Linked DNA regions of Homo sapiens: region 2 is linked to region 1. The links are contacts of gene promoters, found by promoter capture Hi-C in blood cells and fetal thymus (Javierre and others, 2016). All regions are on one chromosome and are shown on one strand. The core of a region is centred on a gene start or on the middle of the fragment in contact, and the rest is flanking DNA. Distances in the headings are between cores, read along the strand shown.

What was found. Contacts are between HindIII fragments. The CHiCAGO score rates a contact against its expected background, and 5 or more counts as called.
Region 2: a fragment that was not itself captured here is called in contact with the fragment with the promoter of P2RY8 in region 1 in 1 of 17 cell types (total B cells); the score reaches 5.0 in total B cells.

Annotation. Positions count from the first base shown.
Region 1 is chrX:1,535,453-1,538,609 of GRCh38, reverse strand. It overlaps P2RY8 (P2Y receptor family member 8), which reads left to right and starts at 1,425. Exons shown (of 2, transcript NM_178129.5): 1 at 1,425-1,689. The HindIII fragment of the contact is 32,946 bases long and covers 1-3,157 here.
Region 2 is chrX:2,523,452-2,526,608 of GRCh38, reverse strand. No RefSeq gene overlaps it. Among named protein-coding and RNA genes, the nearest start is that of ZBED1, 24 kb to the right of the region's middle. The HindIII fragment of the contact is 8,308 bases long and covers 1-3,157 here.

The sequences.
Region 1 (3,157 bases), core at 176-2,675:
TAGCTAATTTTTGTATTTTTAAGGGACAGGTTTCGCTATGTTGGCCAGGCTGGTCTCGAACTCCTGACCTCAAGTGATCCGGCCCACCTTGGCACCTCAAAGTGCTGGGAATACAGGTGTGAGCCACCAGGCCTCGACTTTTTTTTTTTTTTTGAGACAGTCTCACTCTGTTACCCAGGCTGGAGTGCAATGGCCTGATCTTGGCTCACTGCAACCTCCAGCTCCCGGGTTCAAGTGATTCTCCTGCCTCAGCCTCCCCAGTAGCTAGGATTACAGGCATCCACCACCATGCCCAGCTAATTTTTGTATTTTTAGTAGGGACGGGATTTCGCTATGTTGGCCAGGCTGGTCTCGAACTCCTGACCTCAAGTGATCCACCCGCCTTGGCCTCCCAAAGTGCTGGGATTATAGGCGTGAGCCAGCAGGCCTGGTCTTTTTGTTTGTTTGTTTGTTTTTTGGGACAGTCTCACTGTCACCCAGACTGGAGTGCAATGGCCTGATCTTGGCTCACTGCAACCTCCACCTCCCAGGTTCAAGTGATTCTCCTGCCTCAGCCTCCCCAGTAGCTGGGACTACAGGTGTCCACCACCACACCCAGCTAATTTTTGTGTTTTTAGTAGGGACGGGATTTCGCCATGTTGGCCAGGCTGGTCTCAAACTCCTGACCTGAAGTGATCCACCCGCCTTGGCCTCCCAAAGTGCTGGGACTACAGGCGTGAGCCACCACACCCAGCCTGGCTTGAGGGATTGATTCTACCATGTCTTTTCCCTGAGCAGTGGTTCAATATTCATTCATTCTTTCTCAGTGACAGATCCTTCCCTCTCAACCTCCTCCCACGAGTGACAAGAACCAACCGTTGCTCCTCACAAGCAAGGATACCAGAGCTCGGAAACCTGGTTCTCATTCCTGAAACTGGCCGATCCCCCATGGGATGTTGAGGATATGAGCCTGCAGCGCCCGTGACCAACTGTGAGAGCCGGAATGATCAGTGCCCAAGGTCTGTTCGCTTGTCACAGTCTGGCTGTGTACCAAGAGATGTCGCAATGAGCACAGCTTTAGAGTCTAAAAGGAAACGTGTTCTGTTCTTTCTTTGTTTTGTTTTGTTATTTCAGAAGAAACAGGAATCGGTTCTGGAGCATGCCACGGCTCTTCACTGCTGGTTACAAAATTTAGAAAAATCATTCTCCCTCTTTTCCTCACTCTCAGGGTTCTCTTAAGAGTAGGGCCCCCTGCGAGCCAGTGATAGGGAGGTGGGCGGTTAACGGTGCTGCCCAGAGACACAGCGACGTTACTCCAGTGGGCTCAGCCCTGCACATGAGTGTTCAGACAGTTACAGAGGAAATGTCACAACACACTTCCTTTCCACCTAAGCCTGAGTCGCAACCGTGGTGGTGCGCTGGGAGGTGGAGTTTGCAGAATTTGCATTCGGAGACAGTCGTGCCAGCCGGTGGGCCACCCAGCGAAGCGGCCGCCTTTGCAAGGTTGCTGGACAGATGGAACTGGAAGGGCAGCCGTCTGCCGCCCACGAACACCTTCTCAAGCACTTTGAGTGACCACGGCTTGCAAGCTGGTGGCTGGCCCCCCGAGTCCCGGGCTCTGAGGCACGGCCGTCGACTTAAGCGTTGCATCCTGTTACCTGGAGACCCTCTGAGCTCTCACCTGCTACTTCTGCCGCTGCTTCTGCACAGGTGAGCCGCCGAGCTGGACTTTTATGCTTGTCCTGCACTGTCAAGGGAGAAGACAGGGTCGCTGGGAGGGTCCGTGTACGGTGAGAACATGGGGGAAGACGGTGCAAACTCCATGAGGCGTGTTCTCCTCACGCTAGAGCAGACCAGGAGTGCAAATTTCCTGGGAGGAAGACTTTGCACAGCCGCTTCGTCACTTAGGGGAGAAATGCTCAAATTTTCCAGGGCTGCAAGCCACCCTTCCTTTAATAACTCATTCCATGAACTTTCAGAGGCCGAGGTGGGCGGATCACGAGGTCAGGAGTTCGAGACCATCCTGGCTAACACGGTGAAACCCCGTCTCTACTAAAAATACAAAAATTAGCCAGGCGTGGTGGCAGGTGCCTGTAATCCCAGCACTTTGGGGGACCGAGGTGGGTGGATCATCTGAGGTCAGGAGTTCGAGACCATCCTGGCTAACACGGTGAAACCCCGTCTCTACTAAAAATACAAAAATTAGCTGGGCTTGGTGGTGGGCGCCTGCGGTCCCAGCTACTCGGGAGGCTGAGGCAGGAGAATGGCATGATCCCTGGAGGTGGAGCTTGCAGTGAGCAGAGATCACGCCACTGCACTCCAGCCTGGGCGACAGAGCGAGACTCTGTTTAGAAAAAAAAAAACAAAAAAAAACTCATTCCATGAAATGCGCCTCTCTTGAGGTTAACCTTAGAGAGGGTAAGCAGCTGCGGCTGCTGCACGTAACCCATTTACGCCTGAGATTGCAGTTTTTTCAATGTTTGCAATGAGACCTTGGCGATGACCTTGAGCCGTGGGATATAAATAACTCCCAAATGCTTAGCGTTCCAATAATGGAAGAGTAAGCATAAATTAAACGGGTTTTAAAGCCCTATGGGTGCCTGGATGAGCACGGTGGCCCCTCGTCACCCCCTCGGTGCCAGGGAGACCCCAGACCCGGGTCTCACGGCCACCTCAGACCTCATTTGTACAGGTCCGCTTAGAAACCCCAATTCCTTGGGTCTTGTCAGATCTGTCCCCTAAAAAGCTGAGAAAAGGCAGAGGGAGCTGCTCTGGGAATTTCAGGCCACACACAACAAGGCCTGCTGTGGCGCTTTAGGTCCCATTTCTATAAAGGGGAACCATGGTCACGTGGCTCTGTTCCCAAAAAGAAAAGGGTTTGTGTGTGTGTGTGTGTGTGTGTCTGTGTGTGTGTCTGTGTGTGTGTGTGTGTGTGTGGTTGTTTCTTCCCATGTTGTTATCTTTACGTAACGTGGATGAGAAGTCTGAAGCGCGAGAGCCCTAAGTGAAAACCGCTGAGGAGCTGAAGCCCGTGGGGAAGCAGGTGCACCTGACTGCGCCGTTCAATCTCTCCTTCCCGTTCCGTTCCTCCTTGCATAGCCCACTTGACTTTGGCAAGCAGCGCCAGATAGTAGCATATTTTGTGTTTACGGCGGTGACAGACGCCTGTAATCCCAGC
Region 2 (3,157 bases), core at 275-2,774, 990 kb before region 1:
CAAGTGAAGGGGGTTTCCCCTTATAAAACCATCAGTTCTCTTGAGACTCATTCACTACCACAAGAGCAGTATCGGGGAAACCGCCCTCATGATTCAGTTATCTCCCACCTGGTCCCTCCCACACCACGTGGGAAATACGGGAGCTACAATTCAGATGAGATTTGGGTGGGGACAGTCAAACCATATCACCAACATTCTTCCGTGCCCTTAAATTCCAGAGGATTCCTCCAATATGTGTCTATTTTTCCCAAGTCAAGTCTAAACACACTACCTCTAAGGCAAACCTTCACCTAACTAGGCTTAACTCAACAGCTTAACTTTGTTGACATATGTATTTATGGATTTCTAGAAAAAAATTTTTAAAGGAATTTTGTTGTCGTTGTGGTAAAATAACACTATGGAAGGTAACCCAGGCATGGATATGTGATGAAATATAAGAAAAAAATAACTCTATCACCCAGGCTGGGTGCAGTGGCTCATGCCTATAACCCCAGTGCTTTGGGAGGCCAAGGTGGGAAGATTGCTTGAGCCCAGGAGTTCAAGACCAGCCTGGGCAACATAGTGAGAACCCCCAGCTCTACAAAAAATAAAAAAATTTAGCTGAGTATGGTGAGTGCTTGTCTATAGTTCCAGCCACTCAGGAGGCCGAGATGGAAAGACAAACTGACCCCAGGGGTTTGAGGCTGCAGTAAGGTGTGAGTGTGCCACTGCACTCCAGCCTGGGTGATAGAGCAAGACCCTGTCGAGAAGGAAGGAAGGGAGGGAGGGAGGGAAGAAAGAAGGAAAGAGAGGGTGAGAGAGAGAGAGGAAGGGAGGAAGAGAGTGAGGAAAAAGGAAAGGGGAGGAGAGGAGAGGAAATGGGAGGGAAGCGAAGACTAACCTACAATGTCTGGGGGAATAACAGACACACTGTGTGTAAGATGCCAATAAAAGTGCTAAATACCACATTTTTCATGGGAAAATAATTATTAGAGTAATTCCACCAATTTTAAAGTGAAGCGTTGACATGTATCGCACATCACAAAAATCACATTTAGTATTTATTGAACACTTACTGCATACAATCATTATGGTTGATATTTCACAGAATATCACTTACGTAATTTCAAAAACCTCACGTTTACAATGTTATCTCCGTGTCAGGGAGGATGACACAGGACCCAAGAGGATCAAAAATATGCAGATTCCCCAGAAACTCATGCTGGAAAGATTGCATTTTTATTATGATGATTGTATTCATTTCTTTTAAATAATGATATTTGAATGCAGTGATATTTTAAACACTGGGTGATCTGTGATGCTTCTCCTATAAACTTGTTTCACAGAAAACCAGCTTACCCAGGTATAGGCTCAGTTTTTAGAGTATTGCAGTCAGCACAGTTTCTGAAGACAGAATCAATCTGGGACACTTCTGCATTGAATAAAAGATGAACTGACATGTCGCCTCTGCTATCAGAGTCTCCTTGGGCGAAATAGTGAATCAGGGCATGTTGAACGAACATAGGTCTTTTGGGGCTCTGTAATGCTGCCTGCTGCTATAATATTTACAGATTCTCATGCATAGAGTTAGAAGAGATTGAGGAGATCGTTGGAGGGTTTTTGTTTGTTTGTTTTTTGTTTTTGTTTTTGTTTTGACACAGAGTCTTGCTTTGTCTCTAGGCTGGAGTACAACGGCACGATCTCAGCTGACTACAATCTCCACCTCCGGATTCAAGCGATTCTCCTGCCTCAGCCTCCCGAGTAGCTGGGACTACAGGTACACACCACCACACATGGCTAATTTTTGTATTTTTAGTAGAGATGGGGTTTCACCTTGTTGGCCAGGCTGGTCTCAAACTCCTGACCTCAGGTGATCCACCTGCCTCAGCCTCCCAAAGTGCTGGGATTACAGGGCATGAACCACTGTGCCCGGCCCTTTGAGGGGTTTTTAATCTGTAGTTTATTGAGAGGAACTTGAATCTTAATCTTGATTCTTTAACAGAGTGCAATTTGACATTTAATGTCGATTTAAGTTACATTTTTTGTTTCAGAATGATTTCAGATTTGCAGAAAAGTTTCAAACATACCACAAGGAGCTCTTTTATACCCCCGTCATAAACATCTTCAATTAGTACGGTGCATTTGTGGCAATTAACCAACCACTCTTGATACATTACTATTAACCAGCCCATACCCTATTCAGATTTCTTTAGTTTTTTTCTAATGTTTAGGATCCCATCCAGGGTCTGTCAGTCAAGAAAATTAGAAGACAATTGTCAATCATTTTAGGAAGTTTATTTGCCAAAGTTAAGGATGCGCACCTGTGACACAGCCTCATGGGGTCCTGATGACATGTGCCCTAGGTGGTCGGGGCACAGCTTGGTTTTATACATTTTAGGCACACATGAGCCATCAATCAATATATGTAAGAAGTCCATTGGTTCCTTCCAGAAAGGCGGGGACAACTGGAAGCAGAGAGGGAGCTTCCAGGTCACAGGTAGGTGGGAAACATATGGTTGCTTCTTTTGAGTTTCTGATTAGCCTCTCCAAAGGAGGCAATTAGAATATGCGTCTATCTCAGTAAGCAGAGGGGTGACCTTGAATAAAATGAGAGGCCGATTTGCCCTGGGCACTTCCCAGCTTGTCGGGGCCCGGGTTAGTTTCCTTTCACAGGCCCCACAGTTCCACAGGGTGTTTAGTTATTACTTCTACCTGGGTTCCCTCTTGGCTGGGACAGTTTTCCAGACGTTTCTTGATTCAGATGAATGACCTGGACAGCTTTGAAAAGCACTGGGCAAGCCTTTTGACGGAAGTCCTTTTATTGGGATTTTTCTCATGTTTTCTTTCTTTTTCTTTGAGATGGAGTCTCACTCTGTCGCCTAGGTTGGAGTGCAGTGGCGCAGTCTCGGCTGACTGCAACCTCTGCCTCCCGCGTTCACGCCATTCTCCTGCCTCAGCCTCCTGAGTAGCTGGGACTACAGGTGCCCGCCACCATGCCCACAGCTGATTTTTTTAATTTTAATTTTTTAATTATTACAGGAGTGAGCCACCGCCCCTGGCCTTTTCTGATGTTTTCTTCATGATTAGATGGGGTTTGGGGGCCGGGCGTGGGGGCTGACCCTTATAATCCCAGCACTTTGGGAGGCCGAGGCGGGCAGATCACGAAGTCAGGAGATCG